Linked DNA regions of Homo sapiens: all the other regions are linked to region 1. The links are contacts of gene promoters, found by promoter capture Hi-C in blood cells and fetal thymus (Javierre and others, 2016). All regions are on one chromosome and are shown on one strand. The core of a region is centred on a gene start or on the middle of the fragment in contact, and the rest is flanking DNA. Distances in the headings are between cores, read along the strand shown. Region 1 holds the start of HENMT1 (HEN methyltransferase 1). Region 2 overlaps GPSM2 (G protein signaling modulator 2). Region 3 has its middle 53 kb from the start of EEIG2.

Region 1 (4,436 bases), core at 695-3,194:
AATTTTTAAGTTCAGTGGCATTCAGTGCAACCATCCTATCTACAAAACTTTTCCATCACCCATTAAACAACTCTCAATTCCCTCCTCCTCTCAGCCCGTAGCAACCACCATTCTACTTTGTCTCTATGAATTTGGCTACTCTAGGTACCTGATATAAATTGAATCATGCAGTATTTGTCCTTCCGTGACTGATTATATATCACTCAGCATATCATCATCAAGATTCATCCATGTGGCAGCAAATGTCAGAATTTCACTCCTTTTAAAGGTTGATTTTCCTGAAACTCTGATTGGAAAAATAAAGGCTGAATATTCCATTGTATGTATATCACATTTTGTTTATTCATCCTTTAATGGACATTTGGGTTGTTTCCACATTTTGGCTACTGTGAATAATGCTGTTACGAACTTTGGTGTACAAATACCTGTTTGAATTCCTGCTTTGAGTATATACCCAGAAGTGAATTTATTATTTAAACATTCTATTTTAAATTACATCCTGTAGTAAGGTGTACACTCCTTTAATGAAGTCTGCTAAAACTAGTTTCCCCAAGTCAACAGGAACCTCTCAAACTGTAATGTGAAATTATCACTGAGTGTTTTTTCTTTTTAGACATGGTCTGGTTCTGTCGCCCAGACTGGAGTGCAGTGGTGCAATCATAGCTCACTGCAGGCTCAGATTCCTGGGGTCAAGTGATCCTCCGGCCTCAGCCTCCCAAACAGTTGGGACCACAGGCAGGCACCACCATGCCCAGCTAATTTCTTTTTTTTTTTGGTAGAGACGGGGTCTCACACTCCGGGGCTCAAGTGATCCCCCAAAGTGCTGGGATTACAGGCGGAAGCCACGGTGCCGGGCCTTATGATTGAATTTTTGAAGCTTATTGTTAGTTATGTACTTCTTTACCTATGACACTAGACTCCCCAAAATGCCAAAAACAAGATTGGTGTAATTTATCATTGTGGTACCCTTAAGCTGTCAGCATAGTGCTTTGCATACAGCAGGCGTTAAATGTTTGAAAATACAGTTCCAATATATCATTTGTGGCATATTAATAGGCTATTAATTCAGTAGCAAAAACACCAGCTTTTGCATCTTTCAAAATATAAGTCAATCTTTTTTCCCTAAAGAAGGCAGCTTCGTCCCTCCCCTCACCCCCCTAATACTCTTCCATCATATACAGGAAAGAAAGTACTTATATATATTAAGTGGAGTCTCCAGAGGGAAGGATGGCAGGATACAATAACTTTTCCAAGAGATCAACAGTTCTATCCACAACACTCGGGGAAAACTATTTCGGGGGTCGGGTGGCGGTGGAGAGGGGGCGTTGGGAGCGGAAAGAACGTTTTTCTGAACGCAGGTGTCACTGGGCCAACTTCACCCAGCCTACATTCCTTTAAGGCCCCCGTGGACTGCTCTGGGATGAAAGCGGAGGCTGACTGGGACTCCAGCCGCCGGCCGCCTCGCGTGGAGCCTTGCTGCTCCTCTTGCCGCCTTCCGCTGGCCAGGACCGTTTTTAGGCCTTTGCCACGCCTCGGGAGCGCCACGAACTCAACAGCCGCCCAAGCCGCCTTCCGGCTCGCGGTCTGCGGACGCGCTCGGAGTTGGGGGCCTTCGCCAACAGCTGCCGTACCGTGCCGCGTCGCAGCCGCACGCTAGCGGGGTCAACGGCGCGGCAGGCGCAGGGGTCCTCGCCAAGGTTCGGAAGAGGACCTTGAAAATGGCTTCTGGGCATGCGCCACAGCGGCCGTTACGAGACGCAAAACCGACGCCTTGGAACTGAGAGCCTAGAGGGACGGAGCTCGGCGCACCATGAGGCTCCCGGGGCCCAAGGCCGACCGTGAGAGCGCACGAGGTTGGCGAGCCCCGCGGGGAGGCCGAGGCGCGGGTGCGGGCGCCGGCGTAGCCGCGGCGGTAGCGTCACGCAGCGAGGCCGTGCGTGCGCGGGCGTCAGGGCGGCGCTGAGTTGAGGACGCTGGCGGCTCCGCGACGAGCTTTGTTTTTTCGGTTGGGCATGCTGCTTACCGCAGGATGATGGAAGCGACGGCCCGTACAAAGACAGAAGCGTTGGTTTCAGTGAGCAGGGTTTCTTTTTCTTTTTCTTTTTTTTTTTTTGAGACGGAGTCTCGCTCTGTCGCCCAGGCTGGAGTGCAGTGGCGGGATCTCGGCTCACTGCAAGCTCCGCCTCCCGGGTTCATGCCATTCTCCTGCCTCAGCCTCCCAAGTAGCTGGGACTACAGGCGCCCGCCACTACGCCCGGCTAATTTTTTGTATTTTTAGTAGAGACGGGGTTTCACCGTTTTAGCCGGGATGGTCTCGATCTCCTGACCTCGTGATCCGCCCGCCTCGGCCTCCCAAAGTGCTGGGATTACAGGCGTGAGCCACCGCGCCCGGCCAGGGTTTCTTAATACAAGTTGGTGACTAACATGTTGCCTAGATTCCAGATTAAAGTCTAGTTGTTGGAGACACATGTGCAATAGAGAACTAAAATTTAAATTCAAGTTCGTGAGTGAATTGAATAGATGTTGGAGCATCTCTAGTTTATCAAGGACACTTTTTTTCCCCCTCGAAATTTCATTTTGACGATGTGTGGAAAAATTTTTGAAAAAATTTGAAGTTGAGGGTCTTAGCAATGAAATGGGCAGAACTCCTAAGATTGCTCCGTTTGTATCTAGTTGAACTATTCATGATAGTAAAGGGAAAGGATGGCTGTTTTCGCTCTTAGTAGGGTTTGACGTAGTGAAAAGTTACGCTTTCTGAGCCTGTTTGCGAATGTCTGAAAAAATACTGGATACATTCTGTGGATTAAATGGTAGTCCACATTTAATCCACAGATTGGCTATTGTGAATAATGCTATGAACTTCGGTGTATAAATATCTGTTCGAGTCCTGCTTTCGTGTTTTTTTTTTTTTTTTTGAGTACTCAGAGGTGAATTCATTATTTACTTTTAAGCGTTCTATTTAAATTATATACTGTAGTAAGGAGTAAGAAAGAGGCTTTCGTTCTTCCCTTCTGAACTAGGCAGCTATTTCTTTCAGGTATCGCTTTACAAAAACGGTTTTGTATTTATTACAGCTGAGTCAGTGCTGATTCTCTCAAATAGAGCTTGAAGGATAAATCTTCATTTTTGTTTCAACAAAACTTCGAAACAAAATGGAAGAAAATAATCTACAGGTAATGCCACCCTTCTTAGCTGCGTCTTTGACTCTTAAGAATTATCACCTGGATGTATTGTGAGATAATTGCAAACAAAATTGATCACATTTAGGTCCTAGCATTTCCCGGGGTGTTGGTTGAGGTAAACAAGGGTATACATAGATGAAAGAGTCACATTTGGTGTATGTAAGTAAAATAAATGTTTTTACTTTTATCACTAGGTGTTAAAGTAGCAAAATCTATTTTAAAAACACTCTAAGTAGTGTTCCCCAATGTGGTTGTGTATATGGATCACCTGGGGATTTTGTTAAGTTGCAGATTCTGTTTAAGGAGGTCTAGGGTGAGGCCCAAGCTTTTGTGTTTCTAAAGTTTCTAGGTGAAGATGCCACTGGTTTGGAAACCACATTGGGAGTACCTAGGGTGTAGCTCCCTGCTGTCCAGTAGCTACACATGGCAAGTGGGCACTTGAAATGTGGCTAGTGGAATTGAGGAACCGAACTTTAATTTTTTTTTTTTTTAAGACAGGGTCTTGCTCTGTTGCCCAGGCTGGAATGCACTTGCCCAGTCACGGTTAACTGCAACGCTGACCACCTGGGCTCATAACTTCATTTTTAATTTTAAGTTTAAAATTGGATATTTGATTACATTATTGGAAAAAAGTATGTTTGGAATAACTTGGGTATGTGCATGTATATTTTAAATGTAAAGTTTTTAAATCCAATACAGACAAGTATTTCTGATGAAGGTTTTGGAACTGAGACGCAGAAGTACAAAATATGTAGCACACTGGATTTTGAAGACTTAATGTGAAAAACAAGAATCTAAAATCTCTTATATTGATTTTATGTAAAAATTATATTTTCGATATATTGGTTTAAATATTCTAATTCCGATTATAATTCCAATTCTTGGGCTACAAGAAAGTTGCCTACTTGTATTTTATCTATTGGACAGTGCTACATCAGATATCAAATACCCTTTGGACTACTTTTATAATACTGCTGTATAGGAATAGTAACAGCTATTACAGATTAATCTTATAAATTCTGTTTTTTCTTGGGGTCATGTTAAAGAAAAAATTAGTCTGACTTTATTGAGGACTGTTGCAATAAGAACATTGCAAAGATGAAGAATTTGACCAGATAGGGTGATCAGATATCAGGGGTAGAAGATTCTGTCTAAACTGACTTAGAAGTATTCTTATTAAAACTGGGCTAGGCAGCCCAAAGATAGGATTGGGGCCAGGGTTTGAGGTCTATTCAAGAAGATGGCTCAGAGGAA
Region 2 (4,436 bases), core at 404-2,903, 240 kb before region 1:
ATGAAATACATTATAAAGTAATAAATCTCAAGGATAGGTATTCTGGTCCACTACCCTATTTTCCTTCTATAACAGCCCTACCAGGTAATTATTCAGTGTGTGTTTGAGCAGCAGGGAGAGAGAACGCACTACCTCTTGAGGTAGCATACTTCATTTTGAACATCTGCATCGAAAAGTTCTCTCTCATACTGAGGTAAAAACAAAATCGATCTTCTAAAGCAAACATCACAGACTAAATGCTGGAAAATAATGTTTTTTAATACAGTAAAACAAAAAAACTGAATTAGCCACTAACATTTAAAAATCAGATTTCATATAAAACTCAGCACTTCCAGCTTCTCTTTAAAAAACAGGAAGATGTGGACATAACGGATTTTCATTCCTGGCTGGCAACAATTAGTTGGAGTTGGGTAGCAGTTGCCCCCTTCACACTGGACATTATCTCTAAGTTCACCACAATTCCCACACTTATGTAGTTAGGAAAACTTTTTTTTTTTTTTTTTTGAGATGCAGTCTTGCTCTGTCGCCAGGCTGGAGCGCAGTGGCGTGATCTCAGCTCACTGCAACCTCCACCTCCTGGGTTCAAGCGATTCTCCTGCCTCAGCCTCCTGAGTAGCTGGGATTACAAGCGTGCGCCACCACACCCGGCTAATTTTTGTATTTTTAGTAGATACGGGGTTTCACCAGGAAGACTTCTGAAGAGGTAATTGAGTTTGGGACCTAGTCATTGATCTTGGGTCAAGGGCATATGGAACCAGACTAATCCTCTATCACAGACTAGCCCTTCATACAATGATATACAGAGGATATCACTGAAAGAAAATTCCTTAAAAGGGATTTTAAGGAAAACAAAGGAAAAGAAACAAAGGAAAAATTCTAGGGATTCAATAATGCATCTATATTTTACCTTAGTTATGGTAAAAAGACGTAAAACATACCTATCATTCAGCTCTTGAGCAATTGCTAAGTGCTTCAGATGATAATCAATGGCCTTTTCATAGTCTTGAAGTAAAGTATATGTATTTCCAAGACTGTAACAAGACTGTGCTTCTACAGCTCGGTCTTTAAGCTGTCGGGCCAACAGTAGTGTCTTCCTACAAGAAGAAATTAATTCTTATATAATGATCATTCTCAGTTTGGGCTTTAAGAATCACAAAACAAAACTCTCATTTTTCCTCTCTGCTGCTTTCTGCTGTCTTTAAATCTCTGAGAGCCTAATATTCATATCCCGTACTTTCTCCATTACTTTTAGACAAAATGAAAAGACGTTTTTGAAACACAGAAAGAAGATTCAAGACTTTTAGAATAAATTTGAGAATCCTAACAATTCATCAAAGTAAAGGAGTATTGAAACATAAAATCAAGAGGTTCTAGAGATTAACATAATATCTTTAACATTTAAAAAAACTTTCCCTTTAGTATTGGCAATAGCTAAAAGAGGCTTTTTTCCACATGACATCTGTTTTCAATCATACCGTCACCTTTGCATTGTCAAAATTTAAAATATTTAGGTAAAATTCTTATGTGTAGGCTATTAGTCACCACTTAGGTAAAATTCTTATGTATCGGGCATTAGTCACCAACTCATGAAAAATACTGAATACTACATCCAAACATTACCCAAATTCTACCTGTGGTATTGCCAGTGAGAAGCTAGCGTAGCAGTTAAGAGCATAGATCTTGGAGCTAGACTGGGTTTAAATCCCAACTTTGCCAATTACTAAGCTAAGGGCAAAGTCACTCAATCTCTCTGTATACCAGTCTCTTCTTATATAAAATGGGGGAAATATCTCGAAGGATTTTTGTGAGGATTAAATTAATATGTATAAAGTGCTTAGAATAGCATCTTGTGCATAGTAGTTGCTGTATAAATGTTAATGTGTTATTATCAGTGCTTAAACCTATAGATGCTTTTGGATTCAGTAATTTAAATGACCCTCCCATTATTTCTGTCAAATAGTATAATTACTTCATATCACTTATAACTATATGACAAATTACTATGCGGTAACGTGATAGCTTTTTTTAAGCAAACAAATCTAAAGTTACATATTTAATGATGATACCTTCAAATCTGTCACCTTGGGAGGCTACCTACTTATTCTAATGTTGCCTGTCTTTTCAAATATTTTTGAAAGACTTTTGGAATTGCTTTCAGATCCTGTGGCATAATGCTTTCTGGCATACCATTATTCTTTGATGGTACAGTTGATTTGTAAATGATCAGAAATCTTTCTGGAACCAAATTCAATTACTAACATAGGTTTACCAAACTACTGCTTTGTATCCGGAAGGATATGGATCTACATTGTTAGCCTTCTTGTTTGGCCCTGATAACAATTCCAGGCTGGGTGTGGTGGTTCACGCCTGTAATCCCAGCACTTTGGGAGGCTGAGGTGGGCGGATCACTTGAGGTCAGGAGTCCCAGACTAGCCTGGCCAACATGGCGAAACCCCGTCTCTACTAAAAATACAAAAATTAGCTGGGCGTGGTGGCAGACACCTGTAATCCCAGCTGCTCAGAAGCTGAGGCAGGAGAATCGCTTGAACCGGGGAGGCCGAGGTTGCAGTGCACCAAGATTGTGCCATTGCACTCCAGCCTGGGCGACAAGAGCAAAACTCCGTATTTAAAAAAAAAAAAAAAAAAAAAATCTAAAGAAGAGTTCTAAAAATATTTCTAACCAACGACTTGGAATATATATAAAGTTCTGAGTTCTAGCCTGCTTATTGGGAGGAAAAAAACTAAGTTTCATTACTTTATATTCATGCTTCTTTAGTCAAATAGCCACTATCCATTTTATAATAGAACCTTTCAGTATTTAACACAGATACACCATTTAATAATTAAGACTTCTCTATATCCCTTGGCTTTAAATATAGGAAATTTTTATATTTAAAATCAAAATATATACTCCTTCACATAGTACACAGTGATATATTTTATTTGGGAGGCTATTTCATATCTAACTAACCTAACCAACAAATATTAACCATTAGTTGATGTTTAAAGCAAAGTGGAATGCTATTTAATTTTTTTAGATAGGCCTAAAACAATTTTACCTTTTTTATGAAGATGACAAATTATCCAGAACTGTCTCATATTGGCTTCTTTAACAAAATACAAATCAATCACTGTGTCTTCGGTTTAGTCAAACTGCCTTCTACCCAAAATCTGTAAGAGGCTTCAATCCCCACTAACTAGGGAAAACTCAATCTAGAAAGCACAGATCAGGCAACTTGAAGCTGTCTAAACTTTCTATCATCTATGTCTCAAATCTACTGATAAGAGAGATCCTGCCACAGAAGAAGCTGGGATTGTAAATGCTTCAGGTAAGTGAATGGGGGACTCAGCTTACAGTGACAGTCAAATATAGGCAGAAAGAGGGTAAAGGGAGAACTGCTCAATAAGAGGGTGGGAAGGTAGAGAAAAAAATTCAGTGATCACTGGTATAGACTATAAATATTTTTGTTACAAGGCTTTCTTTTGGCCTCTCTTCTAACCCATAACTGAGTGAAATAAAGCATATACACAATATACACCACATATGCTAAACAGGTTTAAAAGATATTAAAGGTTGAAAACTTCATTTAAAAACAATTACTTTTAAAGATAAAAACCAATATTATAAAGGGGTCATACTGCTGCTATTAAATCTTATGTACAATAATATTTATTGAGCACTGTGTACCAGATACTGTGTTTAGTATATTATTTCATTCAATCCTCACAGCATTCCCCAAAATGAAGTATTGATATATTCTGTTACAGATAAGGAAATTGAGGCTTAGATGCCAAAAGTTCTGCTACAATCAGATTTTAAACCTAAAGCCTATGAATTAATGGGACTGAGTATTCATTTTACATTTATCTACAGAAATATTAGACTAACTTGTAGTATTCCGAGGCAGTTTCAAATTCACCAAGAAATATATATGCATTTCCAAGGTTGCTATATGCTCTTCTTTCAGCTGCTTTATCTCCAAATTCTTTTGCAATAAGGAGACGCTGAAACAAACAATTTTAATTAGATGTAGATAAAATAAAACTGAAGAATGATCTAATCACTGTTCAGAACTTTGATGGAGGAAATGATCTGGCTCCAAGGCTTTCCACTGTACCTGCTCATGAGCTATAACTGCATCCCTGAAGTTGCCAAGGAGGTAATGTGTGTTTCCAAGATTTCCAAAGGCACGTCCTTGTGCCGCTCGGTCACCCAAAGCAGTCACTAATGATAGGTTTTCCCTAAGGGATCGCAAAAAGTGATGAAAAAATAAGTTTGCAGAACAATTTTATGTATGTGATTTACATATCTAATTCTTTTTATCAGAAAAAAATGTAGGGAAGCTTACAGCCATAATGTGCAACATTTTAAGGATGACATCTATGATGAAGAGCAATTATAGGAAATAGCTGGGAACACTTTATTAAACTATTCA
Region 3 (4,436 bases), core at 1,252-3,751, 150 kb after region 1:
GCGTGATGGGCCACCAAGAGCTGGAAAGGGTGCAGGAACCATGAGATCTGGAAATACTTCCTTGGGAAGGCAACATCATGAATGAGGTCTTCTAAGCAAATGACAGCAAACTTCCTCAGGTGCTCCTCACTGTGTTGTCTGTTGGAGAGATGGTCTTATTCTTGACCTTGGCTTGTCCGTGTTTCAAGATGAGTTCCCAGATGGGCTTCAGATTTAGAAATCCCCAGGTCATATAAGATTCCAATATGTACAGCAGTTTTAGGCTCTGGGGGTGGCTTTTACAAAGACACTACTAAAAATTTTCTTTAGGTGAACCATTTTCTTCTTGCAGTGGTTCTCTGCACCAGTAAACTCATGCTATTAATTTTTAGGATGTGTACAACAAAGGCCAAGGAATGTTTATCTGGCAATTCCAAGGCATGAGATTTCACTTCTAGTCATCTGAGAGGCACCTTGTTGTGTTTCTGCCACCGGAAATCATGTAGGAACGATTCCAGTTGCTTACACCTGAGGCCATTTCTCCCTTTTCTTTTTTTTTTTTTTTTTGCTAAAAGTGCATTCTTTGCCTGAGTGGCTCTGAGGACAATAATGCACTAAATAATATTTGCTTGTGTATCTTTTCAAACTTTCCAGTTGATCCTTATTTTCTTTATTCCTTTAAAGGAGTGATGGATACTTCAGAAATTTATCGATGCTCTCAAGTTAACAGGTATAAATATTCCTAAAAAAGAGGCAGAGAAGATTCTTGAAAGGTCAGCTCTCATATATGTATGTATATATTAAACTTAATTTTTATTATTATTAATTTTATTAGCTCTAAACCCTTTTTAATGATAAAAGTGATAACTATGGAAATGTTAGAAAAATATGAATAATGGCTTTTCATTATTGAACATCTGTCTGCTAGCACTCTTCTAAGAACATTACATACATTATCTCATTTAATCCTCACAAGACTTTAGAGACCAAGTCTATTATTTTTCACAGAAGAGGAAATTGTTGAGAAGTGAGGTTAAGTAACTTCCCCAATGTCACCATAATCCAATCACCCAAATGTTAACCTGGTATCATTTTAGTGTATAGATTTATTGCTTTTTATAAGATTATGTCATTTTATATTTATCAAGTTTGATCCTTTTTGCTGGGCATGTACTAGCTAACGAGGATGCAGTGGTAGCCTGGCCCTTGTGCCTGTCCTTACAGAGCTGACAGTCCACTGTGTGTGTGTGTGTGTGTGTGTGTGTGTGTACACGCACATGTGCTAACAGTGAACAGACAGTTGCAATGTGGCAAGGATTATGACAGGAACATATAGAAGAACAACAAAGAAAAGTATCTTATCAGGAGAGTGCTGAATTTTATTAAACTGTATAATGTGTCATTTGACCTATTTATATAATGAATTATAGTAATAGATTTTGTCATGTTAAACATTCCTGAAATAAGGCTAACTTATTATGAACTATTTTATACAGAACAATAAAGAGAATAATATAACCAAAAACCATACCTACCACTGTGTTTGTCATATTTAACATTTTACATATTTGATTCAGATTTTTAAAAACAAAATTACAGGCAGCAAACATTTTCAATGTATTATTCTCTAAACCCATTTCCTCCATTCCTGCCAGAAGTAACTACTATTCTGAACTTATTATTCTCATATAGACTTTTATATTTGCATACATTTTACTATACATATACTGTTAAAATATAGGATATTGTTTCTTATGTCTTAAGCCTTTAAATGGTGACATACAGGATTTTTTTATGACTATTTTCTAATCCTTCAATTTTTGGAGATTTATTTATGTCAATGCATATAGCTCTAGTTCAATTATTTTAACCACTGTATGGTTCCATTTAATAAATATAACTCAGTTTACTTATGAATTCTGATGGTGGTTATTTAGGTTAAAAATTTCTTTTGTTGCTAATATAATATAAAGCTGCAATGGATATTCTTGTGTGCATCTCCTTGTGTATTACTTGCGGTGGAATTGTTTGGTCATAGGCTTTACAGATATTTAACTTTAATTAAATATTCCAAATTGCTCTCCAAAGTAGTTGTACCACCTTAGATTCCTACCAGAAATGTATTTCCATTCCAACACTTGATACCGTAGTATTCTAATATTTTAATATTTTCCAAACCTATGGGTCAGAAATATTATCTCATTATTTTTAATGTAACTAAATGTAATTAATTATATTCCTTATTACTAGTAAAACTATCTCTTCATATATTTGCTGGTCATTTGGATTTTTTTTGTGAATTACCTGTTTATTCCTTTTGTCAATTTTTCAGCGAGATTGGTTGTCTTTTTCTTAATGGCTTGTAGGTGTTCTTTCTAAATTCTGGATATTAATCCTATGTTGGCATTATGCAATATGAATATCTTTTCCCAGCTTGTTGCTTATTTAAAACAAATTTTTGGTGTTTTTTTGTTGTGCAGACATTTTAAATTTTAATGCAGTTATATTTGTCTCTTTTTCTTTTATGGTTGTGCTTTTGACATATTGAGAAATTCTTCCTTACCCTGGGGCATGAAGATATTCATCAATATCTTATTTAAATATTTAGATATTTCATATTTAGTTCTTTAATTCACCTGTAATTGATGTTTGTGTATGGTGTGAAATAGGGATTCAATTTCTTTTTTTTTCTGTATAGTCAATTGTCCTATCACCATTTATTGGTTAGTCCCATCCTTTTCCTACAGATTTGAAATGCTTACCTCTAGTCATATATTAAATTTCCATCTGTGTATGGGTGTGTTTCTGGTTTCCTTTTCCTGTTATATTAGTTGTTGTCTACTGTGTATCAATACCGCATGTCTTAATTACTATCACTGTATAATACATCTCGACATCTGGACTTACATTCATCTCCAATAGTGTCAATGCTATTTTTGACCCTTTCCTCTTCTATATGAATTTTAGAATCAGATTGTTTTGTTATATACATGTGCATACACATGCACATATATATATATATCATTTTTGGAATTTTGATTGCAATTTATTGAATTAATAGCTTAATATTGGGGAGAATTGATGTATTTATGATGTTTCATCCTCTATTTCTTGAACATTTTATGTGTCTTCATTTTTTAGATCCTTCCTTTTTTCAGCAGAAAAGAGCAGCAATAACATTATTGAAAAATATCCATTGGATCTGGCGTTTGGGAGATTTCCGGGGATGTCAGTGAAAGGAGTTTGAGTAGTGTGGTAAAGGGTTAAGTCAGGTTGCATAAGGCTGTTGAGTGGGTGAGGGTGAGGATGTGGGGACTGTGGTTTAAGAGAAATGGTTAATGTGGGGATGTGGTTTAAGAGAAATTTAAATGAGAAGGAGAGGACAAGTCTTTTTAAATTTTATTTTTATTATCTTTTGGTGGATAGGAGAGATCTGAGAAGTAGTCACCAGAGAAGGACATGTTGGATCTGTTATAGAGACAGGAGATGACTGATTGGGAGAAAAGGGTTCCAACAACTCAAGACAGGGAGTCCTTGAATAAGACTCAATATTTCAACCTCTGAGTGTAGAGCACAAGAGGTGGTGATGAAAAGTGGATTTATTTATTTACTAACAAATATTTATTGAGTGTCTGTGATATGCCTGTCATTCATCTAGGTGCTAAGGATGCAGTAGTGAAGGAAATAGGCCAAAATCCTTGCTCTCATAGAGCTCACCATAAACAAGAGGAGAAAAACAATAAACTAGATAAATAATTAAGCTATGTTAGATAATGAAAAGTGCTAAGGGGAAATGAAGCAGAGGAGGGAGACTCGTGTGTGTGTGTGTGTGTGTGTGTGTGTGTGTGTGTGTGTGTTGGGGAAATGCAATTTAACTGTGGTGAGTAGGGAATTCTTGAAAGTGACATTTGAGTAGAGATAAGGAGGAAGTAAGAGAGGGAGCTATGATGATCTTTGGGGGAAGAGCTTTCCAGGCAAAGGAAATAGCAACAGCAAAGGGTGAAGTAGGTAGTGTCTCTGACAGGGTTAGGGCATTGAGAGGAGGCCAGTGTGTGCAGAATAGAGTGAATGAGGGAGAGCGTGGTAGGAGATGAAATCTAGAGGTAATAGGAGGCCAGATCACATAAGGCTTCCAGGAAATTGTAAGAACTTTGGTTTTTACTCAGTTAAGTCATTGGGTGGTTTTAAACAGAGGTGTGACATGATCTAACTTAAGTTTTAACCATCTCATTCTGGCTGGTGTACTGCGAATAGTTTATAACGGCAAGGGTGAAAACAGAGAGACCAATTAAGACAGTGCTGCAATAATAACAGACAAGATTTTAGGATGGCTTGCACCAGGATGGATGAGGGTGAGAAGTGAGTAGATGCCAGGTAGATTTTGAAATACTGACAAGATTTACTTCTGGATCATGTGTAGGGTGTTAAAGAAAGTGAATAGTTAAGGATACTGTCAA

Evidence for each region. The method cuts DNA at HindIII sites, captures the fragments that hold promoters and counts their contacts. A CHiCAGO score of 5 or more calls a contact.
Region 2: a contact is called between a fragment that was not itself captured here and the fragment with the promoter of HENMT1 in region 1, in 2 of 17 cell types (total CD8 T cells and naive CD4 T cells). The highest score is 6.6, in total CD8 T cells.
Region 3: a fragment that was not itself captured here is called in contact with the fragment with the promoter of HENMT1 in region 1 in 5 of 17 cell types (non-activated CD4 T cells, activated CD4 T cells, total CD8 T cells and 2 more); the score reaches 6.9 in non-activated CD4 T cells.

The regions. Positions count from the first base shown.
Region 1 is chr1:108,658,601-108,663,036 of GRCh38, reverse strand. HENMT1 (HEN methyltransferase 1) reads left to right here and starts at 1,944. Exons shown (of 8, transcript NM_001102592.2): 1 at 1,944-2,074; 2 at 3,075-3,173. The coding sequence starts at 3,153. RefSeq lists enhancers at 1,047-1,635, 1,636-2,225 and a silencer at 1,811-1,980. The HindIII fragment of the contact is 2,630 bases long and covers 880-3,509 here.
Region 2 is chr1:108,898,448-108,902,883 of GRCh38, reverse strand. GPSM2 (G protein signaling modulator 2) reads right to left here. Exons shown (of 15, transcript NM_013296.5): 6 at 4,119-4,242; 7 at 3,890-4,005; 8 at 939-1,094. Among named protein-coding and RNA genes, the nearest start is that of GPSM2, 24 kb to the right of the region's middle. The HindIII fragment of the contact is 5,386 bases long and covers 1-4,346 here.
Region 3 is chr1:108,504,719-108,509,154 of GRCh38, reverse strand. It overlaps the pseudogene RPL7L1P21. Among named protein-coding and RNA genes, the nearest start is that of EEIG2, 53 kb to the left of the region's middle. RefSeq lists a silencer at 4,427-4,436. The HindIII fragment of the contact is 8,656 bases long and covers 1-4,436 here.